2 separate regions of the Homo sapiens genome follow, and region 1 is linked to region 2. Evidence: promoter capture Hi-C in human tissues and cell types (Jung and others, 2019). All regions are on one chromosome and are shown on one strand. Each heading gives the region's core, a stretch centred on a gene start or on the middle of the fragment in contact. The rest is flanking DNA. Distances are from core to core; before and after follow the strand shown. Region 1 overlaps GOLGA3 (golgin A3). Region 2 holds the start of PGAM5 (PGAM family member 5, mitochondrial serine/threonine protein phosphatase).

Evidence for each region. Contacts are between HindIII fragments. The study calls those that stand out against the background at their distance.
Region 1: a fragment that was not itself captured here is called in contact with the fragment with the promoter of PGAM5 in region 2 in 2 of the 25 tissues and cell types used here (IMR-90 fibroblasts and lymphoblastoid cells).

Annotation. Positions count from the first base shown.
Region 1 is chr12:132,800,827-132,805,749 of GRCh38, reverse strand. It overlaps GOLGA3 (golgin A3), which reads left to right. Exons shown (of 24, transcript NM_001389683.1): 7 at 728-1,034; 8 at 3,781-3,983. Among named protein-coding and RNA genes, the nearest start is that of GOLGA3, 26 kb to the left of the region's middle. The HindIII fragment of the contact is 7,480 bases long and covers 1-4,923 here.
Region 2 is chr12:132,707,720-132,713,120 of GRCh38, reverse strand. It overlaps PGAM5 (PGAM family member 5, mitochondrial serine/threonine protein phosphatase), which reads right to left and starts at 2,279. Exons shown (of 6, transcript NM_001170543.2): 1 at 2,054-2,279. The coding sequence starts at 2,244. LOC124903063 (a long non-coding RNA gene) reads left to right here and starts at 2,526. Exons shown (of 2, transcript XR_007063551.1): 1 at 2,526-2,627. RefSeq lists silencers at 1,763-1,872, 2,083-2,542 and an enhancer at 2,713-2,762. The HindIII fragment of the contact is 20,255 bases long and covers 1-5,401 here.

The sequences.
Region 1 (4,923 bases), core at 1,761-4,260, 92 kb before region 2:
CGCTGCCCTGTGCAGGTGCAGTTGGGCCCAAAACCAGTGCAGGCTCCCTGTGCGTCCTGGGCCTGTTTGGAAAGTCGCCTTTTTCTGTGACGGCTGTGCTGGGAGAGCGCCTGGGGGTCTCGGGGTCCTCTGTCAGGCCTTGGGAGAGCGCCTGGGGGTCTCGGGGTCCCCTGTCAGGCCTTGGGAGAGCGCCTGGGGGTCTCGGGGTCCCCTGTCAGGCCTTGGGAGAGCGCCTGGGGGTCTCGGGGTCCCCTGTCAGGCCTTGGGAGAGCGCCTGGGGGTCTCGGGGTCCCCTGTCAGGCCTTGGGAGAGCGCCTGGGGGTCTCGGGGTCCCCTGTCAGGCCTTGGGAGAGCGCCTGGGGGTCTCGGGGTCCCCTGTCAGGCCTTGGGAGAGCGCCTGGGGGTCTCGGGGTCCCCTGTCAGGCCTTGGGAGAGCGCCTGGGGGTCTCGGGGCAGGGTCCTCTGTCAGGCCTTGGGAGAGCGCCTGGGGGTCTTGGGGTCCCCTGTCAGGCCTTGGGAGAGCGCCTGGGGGTCTTGGGGTCCCCTGTCAGGCCTTGGGAGAGCGCCTGGGGGTCTTGGGGTCCTCTGTCAGGCCTTGGGAGAGCGCCTGGGGGTCTCGGGGTCCCCTGTCAGGCCCTGACTGACTCGCTGGTTGTGTTCCTGTTAATACACTGGATGGAAGTGACTCGTTTTCTTAAAATCATTGTGGTTGTTGGGATCTTTTCAGGCACTTAAAGAGAAGGCTGAGCTGCAGGCCCAGCTGGCCGCCCTCAGCACGAAGCTGCAGGCGCAGGTGGAGTGCAGCCACAGCAGCCAGCAGCGGCAGGATTCGCTGAGCTCGGAGGTGGACACCCTGAAGCAGTCGTGCTGGGACCTGGAGCGAGCCATGACTGACCTGCAGAACATGCTGGAGGCAAAAAATGCCAGCCTGGCGTCGTCCAACAACGACTTGCAGGTGGCCGAGGAGCAGTACCAGAGGCTTATGGCCAAGGTAGAGGACATGCAGAGGAGCATGCTCAGCAAGGACAACACAGGTGAGGCTGGCCCTGGCCACGCCCTCCCCTCCCTGACTGGTCCCTGCTGCTCCCTCCTCCTTCCTCGACTGGCCCCCGCCACGCCCTCCTCCTTCCCTGACTGGTCCTTGCTGCTCCCTCCTCCTTCCTCGACTGGTCCCCGCTGCTCCCTCCTTCCTCGACTGGTCCCCGCCACGCCCTCCTTCCCTGACTGGTCCTCGCCACGCCCTCCTCCCTGGTGCTGACAGCTCTGTCGGCATGTGACTGTGCCTGTGAGGGTTGCATTGGTTTATAGTTTACACATAAGGAGGCTGCTTTTCTAAAGGAAATACAAGTTTTAGTTGAACTTGTGGAATTGTGTACATTTTTGTGTGCACATCCAGGGGAATGAATTAGGTCTTGGAGATTGACCTTGGACCCTGGAGTATCTGCGGTGATCCTGCCTCAAAAGTCCAGTGTTATTTGGGAGTATAGAGCTGCCCACTTATTCCACAGAATTGCAGATTCCATTTAAAATATTCAAGAACAGCTCCTTGACTGTCCGTCTGGCAACCTTTTCTCCCTGGATGCAGTGCGTCGGTCCAGCTGCCTCCCTATAGGGCTCGCCCAGAGAGTACAAGTAGGGCAGTGGATTGCGGAAGCCGCGGCGGGCTTCCATGTGGCTTGGCAGCACGCCTTCCACCCCCTCAGTCCCCGCCCGGGCCAGTCCCAGAGCTCACACTCCAGTGCCCAGCAGACACGGAGAAGACTGTGGTTGGCCTGCTCAGAGCAAGCGTGAACAGGAGTGGGAAGGAGAGGGCGAAGCAGGGTGGGAAGATTGAAGACAAAGCCCGAGGGGTGTAGAGTGACCCGGGTCCAGAGTCCTCCCAGGGAGGCCGCTTGGTGGGCTCATCTCTCAGGTCTTGGGATCTCCTGAGCCAGGGGTCCCTGGTGCAGCCGCTGTGAGGGCTGACTCCATGTGAGCCGGTCCGCCTATGAGGCTGTGAGACTGGGTCTTGGATGACACAGAGGAAGGTGACAAGCTGGCGTCACAGAGGCTACATTCTAATACTAGGAAAGAGAAAGCCGGCCGAGAGACAGTAGTACTCTTGTAATCGCTTTAATATTTTAGTCCTTGAGCATTTCGTGATACCCAATCCCTTAGGAAAAACCATGAAACCCAAAAAGTTCTCAACACTAAAGTAGTTTGGGGCCCTGTGGGTTGCCACGCTTCACTTGACCAGTGATCGGGGGGTGGCAAAACCAACCTGAACTTTGATGAGGCCGCCCAGTCCTAACCGGTGGGTTTAAGTTGGAATTAGCCACACGGATACCCTTGCTGTTTGTTGATGGCTGGTAGACATCGTTGGGTCGAAGACAGAGCCTCGGCGTCCATGACCATTTTCACAGATTTCCTAAGTGTGAATTTGCCGACTTGATTAAATTTGTTTGAACCACAAACTCAGTATTCATGGACACGTGTGGAGCAGCAGAGTACGTGAGTCATCCTAGGCGCCCGCTGAGGAGGGCAGGATACTCTGCCTGCCTTGGTGCTCAGCCGGGCTGCAGGCAGGAGTTCTTTCCAGGGCCATGTTTACATGTTTGTGCTTTGGGGGGTAATTTTGCAGTTAAAGATGGCCCCAAACACTGTCTAGTGTTTTTTTTTGTTGTTTTGTTGTTGTTGTTGTTTTGTTTTGTTTTTGAGACGGAGTTTCACTCTTGTTGCCCAGGCTGGAGTGCAATGGCGCCATCTTGGCTCACCGCAACCTCTGCCTCCCAGGTTCAAGCGATTCTCCTGCCTCAGCCTCCCTAGTAGCTGGTATTACAGGCGTCTGCCACCGCGCCCGGCTAATTTTGTATTTTTATTAGAGACAGGGTTTCTCCATGTTGGCCAGGCTGGTCTCGAACTCCCAACCTCAGGTGATCCGCCCGCCTCAGCCTCCCAAAGTGCTGGGATTACAGGCGTGAGCCACTGTGCCCGGCCAACACTGTCTAGTGTTTTTAAACACAGAGAGGATGTGAGGTGTTTCATGGAGAAGATGTACTTCATTTTTTTCTTTTGGTTTATTTTTTTCAATTCATCCTGTTTCTATTTTTTTAAATTTTCTTTTTGTTTTTAAAAATTCATTTGTCTTTGAGATGGGTTGCTCTGTTGCCCACGCTGGAGTGCAGCAGTGCAGTTGTGGCTCACTGCAGCCTCAAACTCCTGGGCTCATGGGATCCGCCCGCCTCAGCCTCCCAAGTGGCTGGGACCACAGATGCATGCCACCCCGCCTGGCTAATTTTTTTTTTTTGGTGGTGGGGGATCTCGCTGTGTTGCCCAGGCTGGTCTGGATCTCCTGGGCGTGCACCCCTGTGCCCCCTGCACCCCCCATGCCCCCTGCACCCCCGTGTCCGGCCACTGTTATTTCCTAGAGAATCTTTGCTCAGGCTTGTTGGTCAAGTTGCTGTTGGCCGTGAGCTCGGTGTGAATGAATCGACGCTATGTATTAGATCGGTGTCGTAAATGGAAACACTGAACAGAGGTTATGTATTGATGAGCTGGTGAAGGTGCTGTGAGCAGAGGCCTGCAGGAACCTCACCCTGCATTTCTGCCAGGAGCGGCATCTCTCAGCGCCCACTAATGCCGTGTTCACGGCGACTTCATGGAGTCAGCTATGGGGAATAACCGGAACTGACTCATTCTTGGTCTCCCCTGAGAGTCCCGCCTTGTGTCCCGCACGCGCGGAGCTGCGGACTCCCCCGTTGGCCGTCGCTGGCCTGAGCCGCTGTGCTTGCCCCATTTCAGTGCACGACCTGCGACAGCAGATGACAGCCTTGCAGAGCCAGCTTCAGCAGGTGCAGCTGGAGCGGACGACGCTGACCAGCAAGCTGAAGGCGTCGCAGGCGGAGATCTCGTCCCTGCAGAGTGTCCGGCAGTGGTACCAGCAGCAGCTCGCCCTGGCACAGGAGGCCCGCGTCAGGCTGCAGGGTGAGATGGCCCACATCCAGGTACGGCCCACATCTACCTTCCAGGGCAGGTCACGCTTCTTGTCTTCATGTAGAACGGTGCTTTTTCCTGAGATTTTTCTGTTTTTAGAGTTCACAGGCATGTTTTTGTTTTTAACCTGCTGTCCAGCCCACCCCGTGTCCCATGTAGGACGTGTCGTATGCAGGACGTGTCCCGTGGGCCCCCCCCCAACCTTCTGACATGGGAGTCCCACGGCAGCCTCTGCCAGCATTTTCAGTTCCAAAGCCTCTCTTGCTGGGCATGGTGACACATGCCGGTGAATCCTCATTTGCCTGGGTCTCGGGACCCTCCCACCCTGGCCTCCTGACTCGGCACAGTGTTGCGTGCCTGTGAATCCTCATCTGCCTGGGTCTCAGGACCCTCCCACCTCAGCCTCCCCACTCTGCTGTGATGTCTCACAGGCGTGCGGTGCCAGTGGGGTTCTCTTCCCGGTTGGAGCTTTTCCTTTCCCTGCTGCCTGAGCCCTCAGTGATACACGGGGACCACGTCTTCCCAGCAGGCCTTGCATTTTCTACGTCCTGTTGGAAAACTCTTTCCTCTCCCGTCCACTCGTTAGCGGGCACAGCCCATGTCCAGCTTGGTCCCGCATATGTGGGAGTGTGTGTCCGTCCAGGCCTGTGCCTCGGCCCACAGCAACTGCTTCGTGTGCTGGAGACGCCCAGACCGACAGGCGAATGGTTCGAGTGAACCTCGATCCGAGTCTCAGCACCTAGACTAATTAGGATGACCTCAGAGATGCTGAAGAGTACCTTTGGTCAGCCTCAGTCTTTTTGTTTTTGGTTTTTTTTTGAGACTGTGTCTCACTCCGTCACCCAGGCTGGAGAGCAGTGGTGCGATCTCAGCTCACTGCAGCCTCAACCTCTCAGACTCAAGCTATTCTCCTACCTCAGCCTCTTAACTAGCTGGGATCACAGACATTTG
Region 2 (5,401 bases), core at 1,030-3,529:
TGGCACGATCTGGGCTCACTGCAGCCTCCACCTCCTGGGCTCAAGTGATTGTCCTGCCTCAGCCTCCCAAGTAGCTAGGACTACAGGTGCATGCCACCATGCCTGGCTAATTTTTTTGTATTTTTAGTAAATACAGAGTGTCACCGTGTTGGTCAGGCTGGTCTCGAACTCCTGACCTCAAGTGATCCGCCCACCTCAGCCTCTCAAAATGCTGGGATTACAGGTGTGAGCCACCGCACCCAGCCTACTTCAAGTTCTTTAACGGCAGAGTAAATCTGTTTCCTTAAAAAGACCTAAGAAATTCAGAATATTGATTCAGAATTTCTGATTTTTCAGAATTCTGATTTTTAAAAAAGAATATAACAGGCTGGGCATGGTGGCTCATGCCTGTAATCCCAGCACTTTGGGAGGCCGAGGTGGGAGGATCACCTAAGGTTGGGAGTTCAAGACCAGCCTGACCGACATGGAGAAACCCCGTCTCTACTAAAAATACAAAATTAGCTGGGCATAATGGCGCGTGCCTGTAATCCCAGCTACTCGGGAGGCTGAGGCAGGAGAATTGCTTGAACCCGGGAGGCGGAGGTTGCAGTGAGCCGAGATTGCACCATTGCACTCCAGCCTGGGCAACAAGAGCGAAACTCCGTCTCAAGGAAAAAGAAAAAAGAAAAGAAGGAAAAAGAATGTAACTCCAGTCTAATCATGAGAAAACCTTCAGAGAAGTCTCAATTGAGGGACCTTCTACCAAACCCCTGACCAGGACGCCTCAAACACTCATGATCATCAAAACAAGTCTGAGAAATTGTCACAGCCAAAACATGCCTACGGAGGCATGAAGACTACTTGTCATGTGGGACCCTAGAACAGAACAGCAGGTAAAAGCTGAGGAAATCTCAATGAAACATGAACCTTAGTTAACAGTAATGTATTATAAACTAATATAATAACTATAATTAATCTATATTATTTTGGCTCATTAATTTTGATATATACACCATGCTTAGTGTATGATGCTAATAATAGAGGAAATAAGGTTAACAAAAGATAAAAATCTAATATAAAGTACCTAACGCAACCACAGTAGTATAATTCTGTGCCCCCTTTCTCAAAGTACTGAGTATAATGAGGAGTTAGGACTGGGAAAACCATCCTTGCCGCTAGAGCAGTCCTGGCCGACAGAAACAGAATGCCAGCAACATGTGAAATTATACATTTTCTAATAGCAACATTAAAAAGAAACAGGTGAATTTCGATCATACTTTTAATTCAATATGCTAAAAATACTATTTCAACACATAACTAATGTTAAAAACCTGCACTACTTTTTTTTTTTTTCCTTTGAGACAGGCTCTGTTGCTCAGGCTGGAGTGAAGTGGCGGGATCTCGGCTCACACTGTGCAGCCTGGGACCCCTGGACTCAAGGGATCCTCCTACCTCAGCCTCCCGAGTAGCTGGGACCACAGGCGCGCGCCACCTCGCTCGGCCAATTTTTTTTGTATTTTTTGTAGAGATGGGGGTCTCACTATGTTGCCCAGGCTGGTTTCAAATTTCTCAAGCGATCCTCCGGCCTCAGCCTCCCAAACGCTGGGATTACAGGCCTGAGCTACCGCACCCGGCCCTGCTTGCGTTAAGTTTAAATTGACGTAAACTAAGCATTCCCTTCAGGAATCACACGAGCCATATTTCAAACGCTCAATAACCGCACGCAGCTCGCGGGCGCGCTCCTGCAAACGCCCCTGAAGGAGGCCCGGCTTCCACCTCAGCCTCGCCCCGGCCCGCGCTCCGGCGATGGCACCCAGGGCGGACTCGCAGGGGCGGGGAGAAGGGCGAGGACGCGACGGAGCTCGGCCACAGAAGCCGGCGGGAAGGGTCAGCCGCCCCCGGAACCCTCCGCGCAGAGCGGCCCCGGAAAGCGGCTCCTCCGCTGGGGAAAGCAGACGGCGACCCCAGATCCCGACCCGATCGCAACCTTAAACCTGGTCCCGATCTCGATCCCAACGGTAACACCTGCCCTGACCCCCATCCCGACCCCGGCCCCAAACAGCCCCGCGCGCACCTGTCCCAGTTGGGGTCCCAGACACCGGGGCCCGGCCGCGCGCCCCCCGCCCAGGCCGGCGGCTCAGCCGGGCGTGGCTCCGCGTCCCCGCCTGCGCGCGGCTTCCCTACCGCCACGGCCGAGAAGAGCACGGCGGCCGAGCCCCCGGCCAGCCCGCAGGCCGCCAGCTGCAGCGCCTGCCGGAACGCCATGCCGCTTGCTCCCGCGCCGGCCCGCGCAGGCGCCCACGGCCCCGACGGCGCTCCGCGAGGAACACGCTTCCCCCGGCTGCCGCTTCCGGGCGGCGGGGGCGGAAGTCCCGCCTCCTGGGGCGCGGCAGGACGCGGGGCAGCCTTGCGCGAAGGGGCGTTTTCGTGGAGCCACCTGCCGCGCCACGCTCCAGTCCCGTCACTTGTGCTCGCGAGCGCCGGTGCGCGCAGGTGCGGGCGGGGTTGTGGGGACGCCGGGAGGGCGGCGCGGTACTTTCCAGAAGGTTCCGCACCGGAAGCGCCTGCCGAGGCCGGAGGCTGGGTGCAGGGGCGGAGACGCGGAGAACTTGGGATCCTGGTTTAAGGGAGCTGGGAAGCTGCCGCAGGTTTGTTTAAACGATATTTTTTTGGTGGCGGAACACGAAGTAAAGTTTTCCGTCGGCGCAGTTCCTGCGTGTGCTGTTCAAGCGGCCTGAAGTGCGTTCAGGTTCGGCCGGGCTGTCCCTCCTCCTGGTCCCGACCCCTCAAACCCCGGGCCGAACACCGCCCTCTCCTGCGGGACAGTCTTTCTATGGCCGGCGCGTTTCGCCTAGCAGGGTCCTCAGAGGGACCGCGTTAGAGCCTGGGTTTCCTTCCAGGGGGACCAGCGCTCCCTGGGTGGACCGACCCCACCGCTTACCCATTGCTGGACGCCTGCGTGCACCGACCCCACCGCTTACCCATTGCTGGACGCTTGCCCTGTTGCCATCTCCTCGCTAGCGTGAACAGTGCTGCGTGCAGATCTCTCTTTCATTGATTGTTTTGCGTCTGTACCCAGAAGTGGGATTGCTGGACCATCTCTGCCCATTTTAAAATTGGGAAATGACATGATCTGATTTAAGCTATTTAAAAATCACTTGGGCCTGGGCTCGGTGGCTCACGCGTGTAATCACAACACTTTGGGAAGCCGAGACAGGCGGATCACCTGAGGTCAGAAGTTTGAGACCAGCCTGGCCAACATGGTGAAACCCGGTCTCTACTAAAAATACAAAAATTAGCCGGGCACGGTGGCTCCAGCCTGTAATACCAGCTACTCAGGAGGCTGAGGCAGGAGAGTTGCTTGAACCCAGGAAGCGGAGGTTGCAGTGAGCTGAGATTGCCTCACTGCACTCCAGCCTGGGCAACAGAGTGAAACAATGTCTCAAAAAAATAAAAATAAAAAAACTGAATGGTTCCACAGAAATACTGAGACTTCTGCTTAAACAGGCTTTCTTGAACCTGTACGCTTCCAGTTGGGTCTGCTGCTTCCAGGTCATTTACTAAAAATGATAGGAAGATTTAAAAAATAAAAATAAAAGGAAGGCCGGGCGTGGTGGCTCACGCCTGTAATCCCAGCACTTTGGGAGGCCTAGGTGAGCGGATCACGAGGTCAGGAGCTCGAGACCATCCTGGCTAACACGGTGAAAACCCGTCTCTACTAATAATACAAAAAAAAAAAAAAAAAATAGGGCATGGTGGCGGGTGCTTGTAGTCCCAGCTACTAGGGAGGCTGAGGCAGGAGAATGCCGTGAACCCGGGAGGCGGAGCTTGCAGTGAGCCGAGATCGCGCCACTGCACTCCAGACTGGGCGACAGAGCGAGACTCTGTCTCAAAAAAATAAAGGAAAATTGGGCCGGGCGCAGTGCCTCACGCCTGTAATCCCAGCACTTTGGGAGGCTGAGGTGGGCGGATCACGAGGTTAGGAGATCAAGACCAGCCTGACCAACATGGTGAAACCCCGTCTTTACTGAAATACAAAAAAGCCTGGCGTGGTGGTGCGCGCCTGTAGTCCCTGCTACTCGAGAGCCTAAGGCCGGATAATCGCTTGAACCTGGGAGGCAGAGGTTGCAGTGAGCCAGGATGGTGCCACTGCACTCCAGCCTGGGTGACAGAGACTCTGTCTCAAAAAAAAGAAAATCAGCCAGGCTCAGTGGCTCATGCCTGTAATCCCAGCACTTTGGGAGGCCGAGGCGGGCAGATCACCTGAGATCAGGAGTTTGAGACCAGCCTGGCCAACATGGTGAAACCCCATCTCTACTAAAAATACAAAAATTAGCTGGTACATACCTGTAATCCCAGCTACCCAGGAGGCTGAGGCAGGAGAATCGCTGGAATCCAGGAGGCAGAAGCTGCAGTGAGCTGAGATCACACTACTGCACTCCAGCCTGGGTGACAGAGCAAGACTCCATCTCAAAAAATAAAATAAAAAACAAGGGAAAATCCACAAGGACATAGTTGAATCCATAAGAAGAAATGACAGCAGATAAATCAGTTAACAAAAGTTCAAGAGCTGGAGATCAGATCTTTATCGACCTGAGAATATGGAACACCAGTGCCTATGTGGAAGGAAACCAGGAAGCAAGTTCATTTAATCCAGTGAGTCTGGAAGAGTCTGGGAGTTGGCAGCATTAGCCTCCTGTCTGAGAGCTGTGGGGCTGAAAGCAGGAGCATTTAGAGGAAAAGGTTGCCTTCCACATTTCGTTTCTCCCCCACATGTTCAGGGGAATAGCTCACTTTCATCACCGTGGAGCACTAGAGAAAGGCCATTCCAGGGGACTTGAACAGGAGGGTTCTGGATTTCAGGACACCAAGCATAGCTCAGATTGGGGATGCAGTAATAAAGATGGGATTATACAGAGTTCACATAAGGAAGAGTAGGACCTCTAACCCCTTTCCTCCAGATAGCCACAAGAATGTTGGCCACTAGGCTCATTCCCTGCTCAGCTACCACCACCATCCTTCCCCCAATGCCCTGACAAGAACTAAAGGATTCCTCTGTGTGGAAACTGACCAGCCCAGGAGAAAATATTTTTTTTTAATGTATTTTTTACGCCGGGCGCAGTGGCTCATGCTCGATAATCCCAGCACTTTGAGAGGCCGAGACAGGCGGATGGATCACTTGAGGTCAGGAGTTCGAGACCAGCCTGGCCAACATGGTGAAACCCCATCTCTACTAAAAATACAAAAAATTAGCAGGGCATAGTGGCACGCGCTGGTAATCCCAGCTACTCAGGAGGCTGAGCCAGGAGAATCACTTGGAAACGGGAGGCTGCAGTGAGCTGAGATCATGCCACCGCACTCCAGCCTGGGCAACAGAGTGAGACTCTGTCTCAAAAAAAAAAAAAAAAAAAAAGCCTGTTTT